2 separate regions of the Homo sapiens genome follow, and region 2 is linked to region 1. The links are contacts of gene promoters, found by promoter capture Hi-C in blood cells and fetal thymus (Javierre and others, 2016). All regions are on one chromosome and are shown on one strand. The core of a region is centred on a gene start or on the middle of the fragment in contact, and the rest is flanking DNA. Distances in the headings are between cores, read along the strand shown.

Region 1 (3,108 bases), core at 340-2,839:
AGAATGAAACTTGTCTCATTCTCAGACAGTCCCTACTGAACAAAGTAATTCTTGTTCTGAAAGTTTTTCTTGGGTCATTTTTGTAAAGATGTTCTCTGATAATAGAGAGTTTTTGAGACTACTCCAAATCCCATAGATTCAAATGGTGTGTACGTAGAAAAGCCTCAATTGAAACATGGCCTCTAGTTTAAACCATGTTAATCTTGTCTTTCTCCCACTATTCTCTCTCTCTCTTCCCCTTGACCCAATGGACTAAAAATAATAAATAATAAAGGTGTCCTTTCTCCCTTCTTGCTTTTGCTTCAACTCTCCCTCTCCCTAAGATATTCTCCATTTCCATCTGGGAAAAAAACATATATTCATTACTTCCTTTCAAGAGTACTACTATAAATATAGCGAACCACATACGGAAAACTTTCTGCGCAACAGGGACTGTGCTAAACACTTTACATACATCATTTCAGTCACAATTAAGCCTCCTAACAACCCTCCTGAGGTCGTTTCTATAGATTTAAAGAGACTATGTAATTTGCCTGAGATCCCACAGACAGTAAATGTCAAGGTCGGGATTTGAACCCAGACTCCCAAGACCATGCTCTTAACCACCCTACTCTCAACCACCCTACTACCCAATCTACTGCCTAGATTAATATTCTTTTCCTTTAAGAAGCTGCTGTTAGGCTGGGTGCAGTGGCTCATGCCTGTAATCCCAGCACTTTAGGAGCTGAGGCAGGTGGATTACCTGAGGTCAGGAGTTTGAGACTAGCCTGACCAACATAGTGAAACCCCATCTCTACTAAAAATGCAAAAAAAAAAAAAAAAAATTAGCCAGGCATGGTGGCGAGCGCCTGTAATCCCAGCTACTCGGGAGGCTGAGGCAGGAGAATTGCTTGAACCTGGGAGGTGGAGGTTGCAGTGAGCCAAGATTATGCCACTGCACTCCAGCCTGGGCGACAGAGTGAGGCTCGGTCTCAAAAAATAAAAATAAAAAATAAAAAAATAAAAAAAAGCTGCTGTTAATCTTTTCCAGTCCCTGGCCACTGGGAGTTCTCTCCCCTTAACACCAGTATTAATTTACAAGAGCTGAAATATACCTATACCTACTCTACTCCTCCCCTGTCCCAGGCGTGCCCTGACAGGAGTAAGTTTCATTCATGCCAGGCTCACCCTTTCTGGCAGACAAGCCTGCATCAATCTTTTCGTAAGATGCAATTACTACTAATATTGATTCTTTTGTAATTTTAAATATTTGCCAAAAAGATTTCTATCACAGTGTTGTAACAGTGATTACTGCAGAATGTGGTCAATAGTAGAGTTTTCTCAAGCGCTCTGCACTACAAGTACTCAATAAAAACTGAGAGTGCAGGCTTCTTGCCAGACCTCACCCAGCCCTATTAAGGGGACAAATCTATGTCTTCTCTTTCCCTCCACTCCACCGAGACAGCAACTTTTCAAAATGTATTCCCCTCACTTGGCTTGTTTTTAATCTGTATGACTCTCTACTTTCTATATAAGACAGTCTTACCACTTACCTCTTGAGCTCTGAGAAGCTGACTTCCTTGGCCAACTGTTCCTCTGCCTGAAAACCCTAAATGCTTTCCCTGTTACAATCCTTTATAATACTTGAATTTGAACGCTTTATGACAGCAGGGTCAAATAAATAAGATAACTTGGGTTCAAAGTCTGTTTTTCTTTATGGAGTCTTAGAGAAGATAGTAATTGGGAAAGACATCTTCTTAAGATCTAAGTTTCTATGTCTACCTCGGTTACTAGGTGGGGCCGGATATTACTAACAGGGATGTGTTGTTCCAAGAAAGCTTGAACTTGTGCAAAAATCTGTAGCGCATCTCACTGAATATTGTCATATTTAAGTAAGATGGCTGCGTTTTGATCATCTAGCCTGGGGATTGTGAAGGGACGAGTCCAAAGAGAAGTTTGACTTTAACAGAGGTCAAAACATTGGAAGATTCTACACAACTTAAATAATGCTGGAAAAGTCTTAGTTACCACTAGTAACCCAAGCCCAGTGCATAAGCTGTACCAAGCCAGGCATGGCAGGGAGCCGTTTTTTTGTTGTTGTTGTTTGTTTTGTTTTTTGAGGCAGGGTTTCACTCTGTCACCCAGATTGGAATGCAATGGCACAATTGTGGCTGACTGAACCTCTGCTCCCAGCCTCCCAAGGAGCTAGGACTACTGGCGTGAGTCACCATGCCCAGCTAAACTTTGTTAATATATATATTTTTGGTAGAGATGAAATTTCGCCATGTTTCCTAGGCTGGTCTCTAACTCCCGGCCTTAAGCAATCTGCCCACCTTGGCCTAGGGAACAGTTTTATCCTCTTGAGGCTCTCACCTGATTGGGAGATCCTTGCATTACACTATGTTTATGGTATTGTTAACGATGCAAATTTTATCTGCCAAGTACTATTGTTCCCATTTACACAAAAATATAACAGAAGAATATTTATAGTTATCTACACATTTTAACACACTGCTGAAGCACACCAGCAATCTGCCTCTTACTAGCTATGTAACTTTGAAAAGTTATTTAACCTCCATGAGCCTCAGGATCTTCATCAATACAATGGAAATAGTAATAGTACCCTCCCTACGGAGTCACTGTGAGGATTAAATGAAATGAAGCATGTGAATCTGCCGCACAGTAAGCTCTTGGTAAACAGTAGCTCTTATTACTATTATTATTAATATAGGCTGAGCAGGGCATCCTAAATCAACACAACCTCACTATAGCATTGTTCAAGCAAAAATCAGAGCTAAGAGCAGCTCCTGTTGGCTGGGTTGCAAGCACCACCCAAACAGGTTTTGAGTTTGCCTCTCCAGGGATCCAAGATTGTCATTTTAAAATGAATTTAGCAATGGAGTGATGTTTTGGTTCTTGGTGCCTCCAAAATAGACCCTGAGACAGAGCTTTGAGTGCCAATAGTTTATTTAAAGGTGATCTCGGCCGGGCACGGTGAGTGGCTCACTCCCTTAATCCCAGCACTTTGGGAGGCCGAGGAGGGTGGATCATTTGAGGTCAGGAGTTCGAGACCAGCCTGGCCAATGTGATGAAACCCCGTCTCTACTAAAAATAGAAAAATTAGCCAGG
Region 2 (3,216 bases), core at 526-3,025, 140 kb before region 1:
AAAGTAGTATATTTGAACAATGTCTAAGTATGTGGGGTGGGGAGAATCCATATCCGAATATCTTCATAAAGCAAGTTCTTAAAATTTGCAAAGCTATTAGGTTAGTGCAAAAGTAATCATGGTTTTTCTTTTGCACCAACTAATATTTACCACTGAACACGCTGGCATTTAGATCACTTCCTTCTTTCAGCATGCTAGACAGTAAAGAGAATGGGCATGAGGTGGCAGGAAGAAGGAAAGAGTGAAGATAATGGAGTTAGGTCAGTGAGGGATATTTCCTAAATTCCCCACTTCTTTTCCTCTAGCAGTTCTGGGAAACTTCTCAGCAGCTATCATATAAGGAAAGTATCTCGCTAGGAGAAGCAAAGAATCAGAAATAGCAGGGCATGGGGAGAATGCAGGAAGTGGGCCAGGGTAGACAATGCTGGGGAAAGGAGGCCAAGGGAGGAAAACCTAGAATTGGACAGGATGTTTCCTCTGCTGTCTGGACCTTCTTTTTATAAGGTTGTTAGAATTAAATTTCATTTATACAGAGAACTGAAGTGATAGGTGGCCAGATGATTAAGTCCTTTTGTCTCTGATGAGGATTTATTCCCCTCAAAATTCTGATAAGGAATTCCCATGCTGCAAATATTAATTTGCTCCTCTACCTACGCCTCTGAGAGTCACGAGACACCAAAGGCCAAATTTACTTATCTATATTAAGGGCCTTATGTGAAATGAAAGGTGATTTACTTAGCTGACCATTTCCCAAGCAGCCTTACTTAGACTCAACCTTAAAAATTATCTGGAGGGCTCACAATCGTGACCGCCAGCGAGCGGCGAGGTCCACGTAAGGCTAACCCAGACTCTCCAACTGCTCTTGGAGTGAAGATGCCTTGGTTTAGGTTAGGGTGCCAGATCTGTATAACCCAGTGCTAAACGAGAATCCGATTTACCCTCCTCTCTTCACCGAGCAAAGCAACCTGGACAGTCAAACTCAGTCACGTAAGGCAGACAGAACTTAAACCAGAGGGCCAGGTGAACACTGAAGGGGCATGTGACAAGATCCACCTTCAACGTACTTCACAGCCAAGCCATGGTGACTAATGAAATAGGCCAGATCTGCCTGTGGAACACTGTCCTGAATGTTTAGCACAGAGAGACAGGAAGGTGGCAATGAGGTGCAGCAAACGCCAGAGGCTGGCCTGTAAAGGAAAGTGTGTGGCTCAAGTAGTGTCACTGGAAAAGGAGTGGGTGGCAGAGCATGTTGTAGTGATTGTACCCTTCAAATAATAACCTCCATACACAATTGAGTTGGTAGAATTTGTTAATGTAAGAAAAATTTGGGGAATTCATATATTTGTAATGGGCCCAAAATATTGGACTAGAGATAAGAATACACTGAAACAACAATATACACAGACTCACAAGCTTGCATGGACACACTATTTTTCATTTTAGCTTCTTACATCTTCCTTTCCTGATGCCACAGCAGCACATGGATTAGAAGGTTCTAGTAGATTCCAGCAATAAAATTATATATGCTACTCAGAAAATATATGGCTAGCGAGATAGCATCCCTGTTCTCTCCTACGCAGTTTACGTATTCATGAACAGTGAAACCTTTAGAAGCAAACAGATATCAGATACCAATGATCATACCAAGAAATGATACAGGAGACTTTCACAGACTTGATTCTAAACCTAATCCTAACTGATGATAGGGTGGTTTTCATCACCTCCATCCACATCCTCACACGTCCAAAATAGGCCAGCTCAGCTGTGTCACAGTCTACCATGGGAATATGTCCAGGGGAATCCATGGAAATAAGTGGCTGGAGGCCTTGAGTCTGGGCACCAGACTGTGTCCCTGTGGAGAAGGCCCTTCCATCATCAGGCTTAGCTGGAAACTCATTCACTTGGAGGGGAGAAGGCAGGCGTGCCTCATCAGAACTGGAGGAGGAGGTTGTGGAGAAGCCTTTTTCCTCTCGGTGAGTGTGTTACACAGCATTCAAGCGGATGTCCCCACAAGGAATTTCTGTTGGTGTTTCTGGGGTAATACTTTTAATAATACGCTATTGGGAAGAAAATACAATGTTATAAACATCCTTGTAATTTTTAAAACTTGCAAAAATAGTCAACATTAATATTAAAACAAAGCTTAAATAACACTTTAATAACATCTAAGAGCGAGTTGGAATAGTCTCACTGACATTCCTTAGGAAAAGAATTCCCAATTTATGTATTCTCAAATATGAATTAAAATGGTATATTCAGAAACTATACACATCTGTAAACTAAGAAAATCATTATAACACTAATGGAAGAAAATGATGAGCCTTCAACAGAATCTCTGCTGGCCAATAACATGCTTTTGAAGGACTTGGGAAAGGGTACCCTTTTCTCTGGACAGAGGAGACTTCTGCGGCCACAAAGGGCTTGGGGAGCAGAGTAATTGCTGGGTTTTGGCCCCCATCCCCTCACCCAGGCTCCTTGTCTCCTGCAGACACACTGCAGCCATACTGCCCAGTGCTATCAGCCACTGTAACAGCCAGGATGTTACTAATTTAATGAATTCACCTGTAAAGCAATACTGGTTAGTTCATATGAGAGTATAAATTATCACATAGTTAAACTGTAAAAGATGCGATTATTGAAATCATCACTTCTAATGCAACATTGTGTTGATGTAGTACTCATCACAGAGAAGTGGCTGAGAAGGTCTACTATAGAAACAGCTGAGGTACACAGAAGCTTTAAGATGGATCTGAAATATACTTGGGCTTAGGTGTGAAATATACAACTGGCCTTGTAAAACTCAGCATCAGAGTGGCAAAAAGCAGCTCAGGGATATAGAGGAGAAAAAAAAAAAAACAGCCACACTGCAGAGGCTTTGAAAAATCTTTATTAAGTTGCTTAATAAAATCTTTGTTGGCCAAAAGTCTGTATGTATCATAAGCAGACAATTTGGATCTGAAAGCATCCTTTGATTTACTGATCTTTAGGTGAAGTTCTGCCCCTGTCATTTTTATTTTGGACTGAAAATGTCTGGAGTTGCCTTCAAGCTTTTCTATTTTCTCATTCTGGGAGTTTGTTCTTTAAGAAATAGGGCCTCTATAATTCAAAAAGTTCCAGTCCTACAGTTAATGAAATGCACTATAGGGCAAAATGCACAAAATTGCACATTTTGTGCTCCTCATGACCTTAGTATCTGTGTACTGAACTTTCACACTA

What was found. Contacts are between HindIII fragments. The CHiCAGO score rates a contact against its expected background, and 5 or more counts as called.
Region 2: a contact is called between a fragment that was not itself captured here and the fragment with the promoter of TMIGD1 in region 1, in 2 of 17 cell types (M2 macrophages and M1 macrophages). The highest score is 7.4, in M2 macrophages.

The regions. Positions count from the first base shown.
Region 1 is chr17:30,332,468-30,335,575 of GRCh38, forward strand. TMIGD1 (transmembrane and immunoglobulin domain containing 1) reads right to left here and starts at 1,590. Exons shown (of 7, transcript NM_206832.3): 1 at 1,533-1,590. The HindIII fragment of the contact is 5,890 bases long and covers 1-1,815 here.
Region 2 is chr17:30,196,474-30,199,689 of GRCh38, forward strand. SLC6A4 (solute carrier family 6 member 4) reads right to left here. Exons shown (of 15, transcript NM_001045.6): 15 at 1-2,057. The coding sequence ends at 1,983. Among named protein-coding and RNA genes, the nearest start is that of SLC6A4, 38 kb to the right of the region's middle. The HindIII fragment of the contact is 729 bases long and covers 1,412-2,140 here.